3 separate regions of the Homo sapiens genome follow, and all the other regions are linked to region 2. Evidence: promoter capture Hi-C in 16 types of primary human blood cells and fetal thymus (Javierre and others, 2016). All regions are on one chromosome and are shown on one strand. Each heading gives the region's core, a stretch centred on a gene start or on the middle of the fragment in contact. The rest is flanking DNA. Distances are from core to core; before and after follow the strand shown.

Evidence for each region. The method cuts DNA at HindIII sites, captures the fragments that hold promoters and counts their contacts. A CHiCAGO score of 5 or more calls a contact.
Region 1: a contact is called between a fragment that was not itself captured here and the fragment with the promoter of ACTL10 in region 2, in 1 of 17 cell types (endothelial precursors). The highest score is 7.2, in endothelial precursors.
Region 3: a fragment that was not itself captured here is called in contact with the fragment with the promoter of ACTL10 in region 2 in 3 of 17 cell types (megakaryocytes, endothelial precursors and naive B cells); the score reaches 5.6 in megakaryocytes.

Annotation. Positions count from the first base shown.
Region 1 is chr20:34,070,665-34,075,738 of GRCh38, forward strand. RALY (RALY heterogeneous nuclear ribonucleoprotein) reads left to right here. Exons shown (of 10, transcript NM_016732.3): 3 at 1,402-1,666; 4 at 2,899-2,971; 5 at 3,155-3,202. The coding sequence starts at 1,411. Among named protein-coding and RNA genes, the nearest start is that of MIR4755, 24 kb to the left of the region's middle. The HindIII fragment of the contact is 2,177 bases long and covers 1,421-3,597 here.
Region 2 is chr20:33,665,146-33,669,993 of GRCh38, forward strand. It overlaps ACTL10 (actin like 10), which reads left to right and starts at 1,798. Exons shown (of 1, transcript NM_001024675.2): 1 at 1,798-3,380. The coding sequence starts at 2,353. The coding sequence ends at 3,090. It overlaps NECAB3 (N-terminal EF-hand calcium binding protein 3), which reads right to left. Exons shown (of 12, transcript NM_031232.4): 4 at 4,542-4,567; 5 at 4,230-4,327. RefSeq lists enhancers at 1,491-1,710, 2,521-2,600 and a silencer at 1,841-2,170. The HindIII fragment of the contact is 8,805 bases long and covers 1,068-4,848 here.
Region 3 is chr20:33,378,446-33,383,086 of GRCh38, forward strand. CDK5RAP1 (CDK5RAP1 mitochondrial tRNA methylthiotransferase) reads right to left here. Exons shown (of 14, transcript NM_016408.4): 8 at 1,016-1,246. Among named protein-coding and RNA genes, the nearest start is that of CDK5RAP1, 21 kb to the right of the region's middle. The HindIII fragment of the contact is 203 bases long and covers 1,416-1,618 here.

The DNA.
Region 1 (5,074 bases), core at 1,259-3,758, 410 kb after region 2:
TGTTCGAATGCTCATTACTAGTAAGTTAATGAACTTGTCAATCAGTTTCTGGTAAAATATGAGTAATCATGACATTAACTTGTGGGATCTTGGGATTATTCAGTATTGTATACCACCCTTAGCCACAGCGAGTGCCTGGTGAGGCTTTGTGTTAGTCCATTCTTGCACTGTTATAAAGAAATACCTGAGACTGGGTAATTTATAATGAAAAGTTTAATTGGTTCACAGTTCTGCAGGCCGTACAGGCTTCTGCTTCTTGGGAGGCCTCAGGAAATTTACAATCATAGTGGAAGGCGACGGGGAAGTAGACACGTCTTCATATGGCCAGGGCAGGAGGAAAAGAGACAGTGGGAGGTGCTACACACGTCTAAACACCAGATCTCACGAGCAGTCACTCACTATCATGAGAGCAGCACCAAGGGGGAAATGCATGATTTCAGTCACCATGATCCAGTCACCTCCCACCAGGCCCCACCTCCAGCACTGGGGATTACAATTAGACATGAGATTTGGGCGGGGACACAAATTCAAACCATTATCGGGCTTAGCTAGCATACCCTTTTCAAAATGGTTGGTAGCAATTCAGACAGGTCTGTGTCTGGATCAGACTAAGCAGTTTTCTTTTCTTTTCTTTTTTTTTTTTAGACAGAGTCTGGCTCTGTCGCCCAGGCTGGAGTGCAGTGGCTTACTGCAACCTCCACCTCCTGGGTTCAAGCAATTTTCCTGCCTCAGCCTCCCGAGTAGCTGGGATTACAGGTACCCGCCACCACGCCTGGCTAATTTTTTGTATTTTTAGTAGAGACGGGGTTTCGCCATGTTGGCCAGGCTGGTTTCGAACTCCTGACCTTAGGTGATGCACCCGTCTCGGCCTCCAAAGTGCTGGGATTACAGTTGTGAGCCACCATGCCCGGCCCCTGCAATTTTCATCATATGGTGGTGGTCTAGAGTAAACATCACTTGCAAATACCATGTGACCATGGTTCTACATTGAAGATCTTCAAATTTAGATCCTGAATGGGATAACATTTGAGATGAGCATTAAAGGAGTAGACTCAAAAGAATTAGAGTCAAGCAGATCAGGGGGTCAGATCCCAGCCCTGCCATTCACTAACATTGTGGTCTCTCTGAATGTGAGATTTCTCCCTTGTAAAATGTTGTGGTTCTGCATATCATGTGAGTAACAAATGAGGGAATGTATGTAAAGCACCTGGCATGAGGTCAGCAGCCAATATGTGGCAACTCTTGGTAATATGACAAGAAAACAAGATGCAGGAACAGGTAGGCTGGATGCTATAAGGGTTAAGGAAGGTAAGAGGCAATTCATTTATCCAGGATATGGGCCGTGGGCAGTCCTTGAGCCCAGCCCAGGGACCCAGCTTCACCGAGGCTCTTTTTCTTCAGGTGGGCACCATGTCCTTGAAGCTTCAGGCAAGCAATGTAACCAACAAGAATGACCCCAAGTCCATCAACTCTCGAGTCTTCATTGGAAACCTCAACACAGCTCTGGTGAAGAAATCAGATGTGGAGACCATCTTCTCTAAGTATGGCCGTGTGGCCGGCTGTTCTGTGCACAAGGGCTATGCCTTTGTTCAGTACTCCAATGAGCGCCATGCCCGGGCAGCTGTGCTGGGAGAGAATGGGCGGGTGCTGGCCGGGCAGACCCTGGGTAAGCCTCTCTTCACTATATTCTCCTAGTATTCTCTAGAATAGCTGCTATCACTATCCAGTTCTCAACCCCCTTCTCTCTTTCTCTCACCGCTACCACTGCTCTGAGATTTTATAAATTTATAAGCTATGTTTAAGTTTTAAATAGTTATAAAATTAATCCCTATAGGGAAGAATTTTAGAAGCCTCTGGAAAACACTTCTGACCTGTCTCTGCTTTCTCAGAGCTTCTTAGTGACAGGCTTTACAGTTCCAGTTAAAATGCAGATTCTCCAGAGAAAGAGAACAGAGTGGCCTAGAACAGCCTGTTACACCGGGTACAGATGACTTAGGTTAGAACCCTTTCTGAGAGCGAGCAGGAGGGCCTGAGAGCACAAGGACAGTGTGAATACGCTTGGTTTTGGTGTCATGTCCATGTGATATGACTATGCTAGTGGTCTCTCTTGAAGTATGTACAGTGTTCATGCATGTGCATTTACTCCTGTGTATATGTGTATGTTTGAAAAGGGGTATCTGTATGTGTTTTTTCCTGAACAAGAAGTATATGGATTGACTGAACATGTGGAGATATGTGGACACAACCCTTGTATGTATAGATGTAGTGTGTGTGTGTGTGTGTGTGTGTGTGTGTGAGAGAGAGAACATATTTGAATGTGTCAGCAGATATACATATATTCATTTACCAGGTATTTATTGAGACCTTTTCATGTAGTAAGGACTATTCTAGGCATGAAGGTGTTTGGTAGAACATCCATGTGAATGTGCATTGGCTCATTTGCATGTGGGTAGTTGTCTATACTGAGTGTACTTGAGAATACACGTTACCTGTGTGTGAGTTTCTTACCTGGATATGTGAATGTATGTGTGAGTGTGGCTCTGTGTATGCGTTCCCATGTACCTGATGTGTTACGCATTTACATGAGTGTATTTGAGAATGCATATAGGAATATTCGACGTGTGTGTGTGGTGGGGCGGGGGGGAGGACATGTTTATGAGCATGCCTGGATGGATCTGAAAGTGTATGGACATATAAACAGGCATATCCATGTGATACCTGGATATGAATCTAATGTTTGAAGATTAGATGTATGAAGACCTTTGTTGGCACCATCAGTGAGCAGAATCCATGTGTATACCGTGTAAGCACATGAATTGCTGTGCGTGTGCATGAGGTTGATGTGTGTGGGCACACTGTCATGTTAGCATTCCAACTCTGCCTTCTCCCTCCACACAGACATCAACATGGCTGGAGAGCCTAAGCCTGACAGACCCAAGGGGCTAAAGAGAGCAGCATCTGCCATATACAGGTGGGGCTGTCTGACTGTCTGTCTGTCTGGTGGGATGACTCTCTCTTTCCACAGAGGGAGTAAATGCTGGTGTGACAGTGTGCTGAATCTAGAACTTGGGGAGGTGTCTGGAGATGAGGGCCTGTGGAAAGTGGGCTGAGTGGCCGTCCCTAAGCTCCAGCCCTCTCCCCTTTGTTTCCCCAGTGGCTACATCTTTGACTATGATTACTACCGGGACGACTTCTACGACAGGTGAGCAGGGGAGGGGCGTGCCCAGGCATGAAACAGCCAAGCTGGAAGGGTCTTGAGAGATTGTTGGTGCAGCCCACTGAGTTCTCCAAATGAGAACCAAAACCCAGAGGTTTGCCTGGGGTTGCTCCACCAGTCGGTAGCAGAGCTGAGACTGGGGTCCTGTGCTGCAGGTGCTCAGGCCAGAGCTCCTACCACCATACAACACTGTCTGCCATGCTAACTGCCCTTTTTCCTTCTTGTCCTTGGGTGAGGCTCAAGGAGACCGTACAGCCAAGAGCTATGTAAGTGTGGCTAGTTGGAATACACAACAGGGTACAGCGCTGGTTGCAGGGAGTTTGAGCCCTTCCCTCTGTGAGGTGCCCAAGCAGCTGGTAGGAGCCCCAGAGCTCAGTCTAAGCTTCTTGGGTTTATATTTAGAGACAAGAGGCCAGCAGCCATTTGGAAGTCTAATTAGTCCCTGGCGGGCTGTGGTCTACCCTGCACTCCCAAGCCCTACCCAGACTCCAGCCCAGAGGCTGTGGGCTCCCACTACAACAGCACTAGCCACATTCTTGAGTAGAAATCATGGTAGATACTAACTCAAATCTCTCCTCCTCCCTGCTTCTCTCCCTCTGTCCAGCTTAGCCCACCCCAGGCAGCCCAAGAAGAACAGTGCCTCTCTGAGCATGAGTCGTCCGCCCCCATCCCCACCCCGCCCCTGTGAGTCGTTTCAGGAGACAGTGTGGTGTAGTGGAAAGTGTCTTAGCCTGGGGGTCAGAAGATTTAGATGCTAATCTCAGCTCTGCCACTGAATGGATTATGTGATCTTGGGCAAATTCCCTTCCCAGTTTGTGAAATGGGCTTGCACCAAGTGATCTCTCCAGGCTCCTCCAGCTCTGGGATTCTGTGGTTCAGTGATTCTGACCAAGGCCAGAGCCGTTCCCTCCCCTTGGGGGCAGAAATGCAGGGTCTGGGATCGGATCCATTCCCAGAGACTCTCCATCTGCAGCCATCACCACCTCCAGGAAGGGGCTCCCTGAACAAAGGAGCCCCAAGGAATGGGGCTTTTGCCCAGTGATGGCAGGTTTCCTGGCCGTTGTCAGGAAAATTGACCCAAAGTTTACCCCCTGGGCTGCGATTCCCTGAAAAAGGTGGCAGCAACAGATGTCAGAGAGACCACTTCTCAGCCTACTGAGTTTCTGCCTGGTCAGCTGGAAAGGAAGCCCTCCTAGAGAGGGCTTGGAGATGACTTTGGTTGGGGGCAGTGCACAGCCTGGGAGCCCTGGGGGGGTCTGATTGAGCTGCCCAACCTTGATACTCTACCAAGCCCCTGGCCTTTGTCTCTGGAATGGAGCACGAAGGATGTGGTGATTAAGGAGGTCAAGTAAGGAAAGGGCTTAGAGTTCAGTCTTATGCCTCTGAGGTCATGGGTTCGTGAATTGAGGGTCTCAGTACCCTGACCTTTCATCTATTACACGTTCTAAAGTGTGTTTTTAACCGAATTCTTTCATGCTGTGCCCTTGGGTGGACACTGAATGTGGATAGCCATCCTCATTTGGCATATGGGGAAACTGAGGCTCAGGTAGGCTCAGTTGACCCCCACTCCCATACCTCTCTATTCCTAGCTGGGGATTTGTGCTGCTTTGAGATTTGCAAACTCTGAGCAGAGGTTGGGGTGGCAGTTGACCAAGCAGAAGCCAGGTCATGTAATAGAGCAGGCCTGGGTGCCAGGGGACCTAGGGATGTCTCCTCTTTTGAATGGGGTATAACTGCTACCACCTGATGCCTTGCCTGCCCTTACTGGGCCTGGATGGTTGGAGAGGTTGTAGTGAGGTAGTGAGGATCCCAACAGCCATCAGGGTCCGGCAAGCCCTTCCTCTTCACTCCAGGGCT
Region 2 (4,848 bases), core at 548-3,047:
TTGAACATGCACAGGCTAAGCCAGCCTTCAGAATAAAAACACAATGCAGGCCAAGCGCAGTGGATCACGCCTGTAAACCCAGCACTTTGGGAGGCTGAGGCAGGCAGATCACGAGGTCAGGAGATCGAGACCATCCTGGCTAACACGGTGAAACCCCGTCTCTACTAAAAATACAAAAAACTAGCCAGGCATCATGGCGGGCGCCTGTAGTCCCAGCTACTCGGGAGACTAAGGCAGGGGAATTGAACCCAGGAGGCAGAGGTTGCAGTGAGCTGAGATCACACCACTGCACTCCAGCCTGGGCAAGAGAGCGAGACTCCATCTCAAAAAACAAACAACACAATGCAGTGCACATCCTGGGTTCCCCACAGCCCCGCAGTCAGATTCTGTTCCTGAAACCTGATTTCACCCTTGCTCTTGATATCCATAACATGTAAGATCCTTTCAATAAAGTCCTTATTTTGGGTTACATTCACCTGAGTCTTCTACCTGCAACCAAACTGGTCCTCAGGAGGATGAGGCTTTGCAGAGACAAGAAGTGACCTCTTTCCTGTGTGGGGGGATTATTACTACCTTTTGGAGGAGAAAACCGAACCCAGAGAAAGATCAAGACTTGCTTAGGACTGCACAGTGAGTCAGCTTCAGAACTGAGTCTTGCTGGGTGCGGTGGCTCACACCTGTAATCCTAGCACTTTGGGAGTCCAAGGCAGGTGGATCACCTGAGGTCAGGAGTTCGAGACCAGCCTGGCCAACGTGGCGAAACCCTGTCTCCACTAAAAATACAAAAATTAGCCGCGTATGGTGGTGCATGCCTGTAGTCCCAGCTACTCAGGAGGCTGAGGCAGGAGAATCACTTGAACTCGGAAGGCAGAGGTTGCACTGAGCTGAGATTGCAACGCTGCACGCCCAGCCTGGGTGACCGAGACTCCGTCTCAAAAATAATAATAATAAAAAAAAGAACTGAGTCTCAAACTGAGGCCCACGTGAATCCATCCGTGGAAGCCCATAAAGGTAGGGCCAGAGCCTCTCGGGGGCTCTTCAGGGAAGCTGCAGATCTGTGATGAAAAAGCTTTTTCTTCAGCACTGGGAGGGGTAGGGGGCCACACATCTGGACAGAGTACATCAGATAATTCTAAGTGGTTTGGGAAAGGAATCAGACTGTGCTGGGCTGCTGAAGCCAGACCCCTGGATGCCAAAATCACTGCCCTTGGCTCTGTCCAGAAGAGAGGATGGGTCCAGGGAGTTGTCATAAGGTAGGGAGCTGCGAAGTGCAGCTGCTGGGGAGTGAGGTCACAATGAGCCCAATCCAAGTTCTTTTCTGCCTTCTGACCAGCCCCTCCCCTCTCCACAACCAGGAACTTCCGTCAAGCCCAGGTGAGAGGTGCCAGGAGGCTGCCTGGGTCCTCAAGGGGGATATATGTCCAAATGGCCTTACCACAAGGCCCCTTCGCCCTCAAAGTTCTGCTCCTCCCGGGGGCTTCTTAGGATCTAAAAGGATCAGTCCTAGCCATCTCGTCAGCCATCTCAGCAAGGGCTGACGGGGCGGAACAGCAAAGCAGAGGCGGGTCCTGAGAGCGTGGAGCCTGAAGCCCGGCGCCAGAGGGAGACCAAGAGGGTGAGATGCGGCTGGAACCCAGCCAGAGCGGAGACTGAAGCCTGAACTAGGGGCCGGGCCTCAGGCCTAGGAACTAGCCACGAGCTGAAAAGGAGGCGGATGGCCCGGACAGAAGAGGCGGGGCTTTCAGACCAGAGGGCGGAGCCAAGAGCTGAAAAGGGTGGTGATTTGGTCCAGAAGAGGAAGAACTTAGGCTCCGGAGGCAGAGCCAAAGGCTGAAGGGGACTACTCCCTAGGACAGAGGCCGGGAGGTATCGGGCCGACGAAGCCGAGTGGCGCGGAGGAGCGGAGCCTTCAGCCCCGCGGCTGGGCCGAGCCCGAAGGTGGCGTCGGTGTCGGGGAGCCGCCGCGTGCACCGGCCGTCCTCCCTGGGCCGCATCGCGGTGGTGGTGGACCAGGGCTCGGGCTTCACCAAGGCGGGCTTCGCGGGCGAGAACCAGCCGCGCATAGTGCTGAAGAGCTCTAGCTTGGTGCCCAGCTGGGACCGGCCGGTGCTGCCCGGAGCGCCGGGCTGCGAGCTGGCGGGCGGCGTGGCGCGGGCGCACCCCATCAAGCACGGCGTGGTGGCGGACTGGGAGGCGCTGGAAGGGCTGTGGGAGCGCCTGCTGGTGGGCGGCCTGCGGGTGTGCCCAGAGCAGTGGCCCGTGCTGGTGAGCGACTCGCCGTTGGCGCCGCCCGCGGGCCGCGAAAGGGTGGCGGAGCTGCTGTTCGAGACCCTGGCAGTGCCCGCGTGCCACATGGCTAGCACCGCGTTGCTGGCGCTCTGCTCCACCGGCGCGTTCAGCGGGCTGGCCGTGGAGGCGGGCGCGGGCGTGTGCCACGCCACGCCCATCTACGCGGGTCACTCGTGGCACCAGGCCACCTTCCGACTGAACGTGGCAGGCAGCACCCTGTCGCGCTACCTGCGGGATCTGCTGGTGGCGGCGAACCCTGACCTCTTGCAGCAGGCCCTGCCCCGCAAGGCCATCACACATCTCAAGAAGCGCAGCTGCTACGTGTCCCTGGACTTCGAGGGCGACCTCCGCGACCCCGCCCGCCACCATCCGGCCAGTTTCAGCGTGGGTAACGGGTGCTGCGTCTGCCTCAGCAGTGAGCGCTTCCGCTGCCCCGAACCCATCTTCCAGCCGGGCCTGCTGGGCCAGGCTGAGCAGGGGCTGCCCGCGCTGGCCTTCCGGGCGCTGCAGAAGATGCCCAAAACGCTGCGGACACGCCTGGCAGACACCGTGGTGCTAGCCGGCGGCTCCACACTGTTTCCTGGCTTCGCCGAGCGCCTGGACAAGGAGCTGGAGGCGCAGTGCCGGCGGCACGGCTACGCGGCCCTGCGGCCCCACCTGGTGGCCAAGCATGGGCGTGGCATGGCTGTGTGGACCGGCGGCTCCATGGTGGCCTCCCTGCACTCCTTCCAGCGCCGCTGGATAACTCGGGCCATGTACCAGGAGTGTGGCTCCAGGCTGCTGTACGATGTGTTCAACTGAGTCAGGCTGGACTGGGGGGGGTGGCACTGCGTTGGGGGACAGCTCTCTATCTAAAGAGTCAAGTGTTTGGAGCTGGCAGGGTCCTCCTGGAGGTTGGAGCTGACTGGATGGGTCACCCCCATACCCTTTCTGGGCCAGGAGAAGGTATTTGGGACCCATGGGACCCTCATTTTGAACTGCAGTTTGAATCTCCCCAACCACTGCCAGTTCAGAGAATGCCAGTCCAGCTGCCTACCCACAGGGCCCTACTTTATGGCAATAAAGGTGATGCCCCACTTGTGTCCATGCCACAGATATGGGAGTTCCTCCAAACCCTCGTCATGTACCATTTGGACATACATCCGATGCCAGGCCCCAAGGGGCGATCCCTTGAAAAGCTACTAAATCTCATGTGAAAGTCACCAGGAGGAGGAGCCCTGTGCCTAGCCATGTGCTCAGGTCATTGTTGACTATGAGTGCCTCAGTTTCCCCTTCTGTAAAAAGTGGGGTCAGGCACAATCCCGGGCCTGCTCACTGCTCCCTCCCCCTTACAAGAGCTATGGAGCAAAGGGAGGTGGAGATATTTCTTGAACACACAAAGGGAAGGGCAGCTTATTTTTTGGAAGTCACCACTCAAGGGCCTCAAGCCCTGGCTATCAGCACTGTTCGAGCTTGTGTATACACGTGTCCACACAAACGCGTGGGTGTTCACGTACCTGCCTACTCACGTATGTCCTCGGGCCAGGCCCTGCCCTGTGAACCTGTGAGCACAGCCTTCCACGCCTAGCCCAGCCCTGAATGATATCCCACCACAGTTGTGATGGGCCAGCAACTAAAGCAACAGCAGCCCCTAGTATGAAGCACCCAGTGTATGCCAGACATTATTCTGGGTGCTGGAAACAGAATAAAACAGACAAAAATCCCTGCCTTCGTTCTCACTGGTCACAGTGATGTATGAAGGGCAGCTCTATTGTTATGATGGTTTACAGATGAGGAAACAGGCCCAGAGAGGTCAAGGGGCACAGCTACAAAGTGGGAGCCAGGATTTGAACCCAAGCCCCTAGCTCTATAACCCTGAGTCAAGACTGTGGAGGATCCCACAGCACAGCAGATGCCCACTGCCTCACAGTGGATCCCCCACCATCAGCCACTCCACTCACCAGCTTGGTGGCATCCATGGCAGCGAGCACTGCACGGTTCAGCGATTCCAATGCAGCCAGCACCGGCCGGTAGACACCCAGGTGCTCTGAGAAGTAGTCTGCAGGCAGAAGAGGTGCTCAAGGGTTCCTGGACCCCCACCCATCTACCCACCCTGGGATTCTGGCCCCCTGGAATTCCTCAGCAGCCAAGCAGGCCTTATATCCTGAGCCCAGCCCAACCTGTCCCATCAGGAGACCAGCAACAGTCCCTTGCCACACGTACCCTGGGGCCCAGGGGCCACAGGAGAAAAGAGCTCCCATGGGCCTACTCACCACACAGTTTTTCTGTTTCTAAATTGCTGCAGGGAAAAGAGAAGGCGCCCTTCAGACCTGGGCCTGGTAAACTGGGACTAATGGGGCCAATGCCCCACATCCCACCCCACCAACTCCCAGCTTAGCCTAACAAGGCCACTTCTGCTCCACCCCAGATTAAGTTGCTCCTGTGGACAGAGTCCTTGCAGGGTTGGAGAATGGGTTCTACTGCCCCCACCAATCACTCTAAGGGCAAAGATTCAGACCCATTCTTGGCTACCAAGAGGATCTCAGGCCAGGGGAAGATGGATGTGGACACAGGCCAGTG
Region 3 (4,641 bases), core at 267-2,766, 290 kb before region 2:
GTTTGAAATATTGTGAAAATTACCAAAATATGACACAGAGACATGAAGTAAGCACATGCTGTTGGAAAAATGGTGCTGACAGACTTATTCAGAGTTGCCACAAACCTTCCATTTGTTAAAAATAACTCCATAATATCTGCAGAGTGCAATAAAACAAGGTATGCCTTTGTATCTATTTCACAACAACCCAAAGCAGGAGGTAATTGTTAACCCCTTATTAACCCCATTTTACAGATAAAGATGAAAAGTTGAAAACATCACATGCTCGCTGGTAAAACAGTGGAAAAGCTGAGATTTGAACCCGGGTCTGAGGCGAAAGTCTGGGCTGTTTCCCAGAGCACCACATCACCTCCTTCCTGTCCACCCCACACCACCATTACCGCCCCACCACCATTATTACCACTCAGCTGCCCACTTTGTAACAAATCCTCTCTGTACAGCCCTCACGGTCCCGCAGGTGGTCTTAACCTCCCGCTGAATATCAGTCCTACCTCCACTCCCACCTTGGCAGACTTTTTTTTCGAGACAGGGTCTCGCTATCTCACCCAGGATGGAGTGCAGTGGTGCGATCTCGGCTCACTGCAGCCTCGACTTCCTGGGCTCATGTGATTCTCCCACCTCAGTCTCCCAAGTAGCTGGAACTACAGTCGTATGCCACCTCAGTCTCCCAAGTAGCCAGAACTACAGTCGTATCCCACCCCACCCAGCTAATTTTTTGTATTTGCAGTAGAGACGGGGTTTCGCCATGTTGCCCAGGCTGGTTTCCAACTCCTGAGCTCAAGTAATCCACCTGCCTCAGCGTCTCCAAGTGTTGAGATTATTGGTGTAAGCCCCGTGCCCAGCCACTGGTGGACTTCAAATCTTCAAAGGACCAGCAGATCTGGAGGGTGATGCAGCAATACCCCACAGGATCCCTAAGCAGGACTCCAGGTCTCTGCTGCATCCCTACTGGGTCCAGCCTTTGGCATGCTCAAGAATACTAATATCAGTTTGTCACAGCTAACCTGACGCTCACCTCATCAGGAAAATCCTTGGGGTGGGGAGAGGTAAAACGGATCCTCATTTCAGGATCTACTCTGGAGACCTGATCCAGAAGATGAGCAAAACGAAGTCCTCCTTGCTTGGTTTTATAGTTGGTGGTAAAGCCACGACTGAGATTGGTAGGCACTGCACTGTTGAACTGGACCTCCGAATTGTCCCGAAAACTATTAACATTCTGACCAAGAAGTGTCACTTCTTTCAGCCCCTAAACATGGGAAAATATATTGGAATTTTAAAACTTTTGGGTAGCTTCATAAAAAAACACTAATTAAAAATTAGCTGAAATTAACATATCTTTTGTTTTAAACAAAAGAAAAATCGAACCTACCAAGAGTCACCTATAAGTGTGTTGTGTCTATAACCGAATAATTTCAAGCTTAGACATCTTACCTAAAGAGCTAAACCTAATAAAGCCTTATATAAAAATTAATCTTCAAAACATTATTTAGAATCAAAACTGGAAACAAACTCAATAATCCACAATAATGGTTAATTTATGATAGATCTGTCATTTGAATGTTATACACCATGACTATATAAAGTATTCTCACCAGAAATATTTAACCTGAACTAATCAAGCTTTTACACCTAACTTCCAGTTACTAGAATTCACAGAGATATATTAAATGACAACATGAGGAAAAAATCAGACAAAGGAGACTCATGTCTGATCTCTTCAAAAAGTTAATGCATCATTTAAAGAAAACAACAACAACAAAAAATAAAAGAGCTGTTTTAGATTTTTTTCTTCTTCTTCTTGAGACAGGGTCTCCCTCTGTTGCCCAGGCTGGAGTGCAGCAGCACGATCATAGCTCACTGTAGCCTCAACCTCCCAGGCTTAAGCAGTCCTCCTGCCTCAGCCTCCCAAGTAGCTGGGACTACCTTTTTTTACTTTTGTAGAGATGGGATTTCACCATGTTGCACAGACTGGTTTTAAACTCCTAAACTCAAGCAATCCTCCCACCTCAGCCTCCCAAAGTGTCTGGCTTAAATAACTATTGATTTTCATACATATGATAATGATATCATGGTTATGAAGAGAAAAATTGTTACTCATAGAAGATACATACTGAAGTATCTAGGGGCAAGTGTCCTGAGGTCTACAAATTACTTCAAATGGTTCAGAAAAAATACATTTATGGGTGCATGGAGATAGGTGTATGACAAAATGTTAACAATCACGTTTTTCTATTATACTAGTCTTTCTATTTGTCTGTTTGAAAATTTATATTATAGGCCAGGTGCAGTGGCTCCCTCCTGAAATCCCAGTACTTTGGGAGGCCAAGGTGGGCGGATCACACGGTCAGGAGTTCAGACCAGCCTGGCTAACATGGTGAAATCCCTTCTCTACTAAAAATACAAAAAATTAGCTGGGCGTGGTGGCAGGCACCTAATCCCAGCTACTAAGGAGGGTGAGGCAGGAGAATCGCTTGAACCCAGGAGGCAGAGGCTGCAGTGAGCCGAGACCATGCCACTGCACTCCAGCCTGGGCAACAGAGCGAGACTCCATCTCAAAAAATAGAAATGTTATATTATAAAGTTTCACAAATAATGGTTGCTAAAAAAGACTTGTTTTGTAACTTTGACATAATTTACAGACAAACTGCAATATTAAAAGAATTCCCATATACTCTTTGCCCAAATTCATCAAATGTTAACACTGCACCCCATTTGTTTATCATTCACATTCAGACACTCATATACACTCTCTCTCAACACACATATGACTACATTTTTTTTAAGCCTTCTGAGAAAAAGTCACAGATATCATACTCTTTTACTTCCAAATATTTTAGTATATATTTCTTAAAAACAAGGGCATTCTCCTATATAATTTCAGGACAATTATCAAAATCAGAAATATTGATACAACACTATTATCTACTTTCCATAAATCAAATGTTACCAATAGTCCAAATAATGTTTTGTTGTTGTTGTTGTTGTTATTGTTGTTTTTTGAGACAGAGTCTCACTCTGTTGCCCAGGCTGGAGTGCACTAGCGTGATCTTGGCTCACTGCAATCTCCGCCTCCCAGGTTCAAGCGATTCTCCTGCCTCAGCCTCCTGAGTAGCTGGGACTACAGGCGTGTGTCACCACGCCAGGCTAACTTTTTGTATTTTTTAGTAGAGACGGGTTTTGCCAAGTTGCCCAGGCTAGTCTCAAACTCCGGAGCTCAGACAATCTGCACACCATGGTCTCCCAAAATGCTAGGATTACAGGTGTGAGCCACCACGCCCAGCCCAAATAATGTTCTTTATAACATTTTTTTCCCTGATCAGAATCCCAATCGAGGACCGTGCGATGCATTTAGTTGTCATAACTCCAGTCTCCATAAAGGCTATTTATTTGTGTAAGTTGTGACATACTGTTAATCTAAAAAGCAGGATATACTAAATGCAATGTGGATCCTAGATTGGATCCTGGAAACGAAGTAAGACATTAGTGGAGAAACTGGCAAAATCCAAATAAAGTCTGAAGAGAGTTAATAGTAACATACCAATATTAATCTCTTAGTTTTTGCTTTGTTTGTTTTGTAATAGAGACAGCAGCTCCCAGTGTTGCCCAGGCTGGTCTTGAACTCCTACGCTCAAGGCACCCTCCTGCCTTGGCCTCCCAAAGTGCTGGGATTACAGCACCAAAAAATGTACCAAAGAAAGATGGCAATGCTCGAGGAAACTCTCTTTGCAACTTTCCTGTAAATGTAAAGTCATTCCAAAACAAAAAGTTTATTAAAAAGTAGGATATAAAACTAAGTAAAATACACACACATATATAAAAAGACATACAAACCAAATGCAGAATGACTTAAGGAACAATTGGGGAACTCCGAATAAGGATGAACTGGAATGAGACAGTATTTAGCAATTTTTGTTAATCTTACTGGAAGAACTAATGGTATTAAAAATATTCTTGGCCAGACACGGTGGCTCATGCCTGTAATCCTAGCACTTTAGGAGGCCAAGGCGGGTAGATCACCTGAGGTCAGGAGTTCGAGACCAGCCTGCCCAACATGGTGAAACCCCGTCTCTACTAAAAATACAAAAATGAGCTAAGTATGGTGGCGCATGCCTGTAGTCCCATTTACTCAGGAGGCTGAAGCAGGAGAATCACATGAACCCAGGAGGTGGAGGTTGCAGTGAGCTGAGATCGTGCCATTGCACTCCAGCATGGGCAAAAAGAGCAAAATTCCGTCTCTAAATAAATAAATAAAATAAAATAAAAATATTCTTTAGCAGCACATGGTGGTACGTGCCTATAATCCCAGCTACTCAGGAGGCTGAGGCAGGAGGATCACTTGAGTCCCGGGGGCAGAGGTTGCAGTGAGCCAAGATCATAACACTGCACTCCAGCCTGGGCAACAGAACAAGACTCTGTCTCAAAATAAATAAATAAATAAGTAAATAAATAAATAGGCCAGGCACAGTGGCTCACACCTGTAATCCTAGCCCTTTGGGAGGCTGAGCCGGGTGAATCACCTGAGGTCAGGAGTTTGAGACTAAGCCTGGCCAACATGGTGAAACCCCATCTCTACTAAAAATACAAAATTAGCTGGGTGTAGTGGTGCACACCTGTAATTCCAGCTACTTGGGAGGCTGAGGC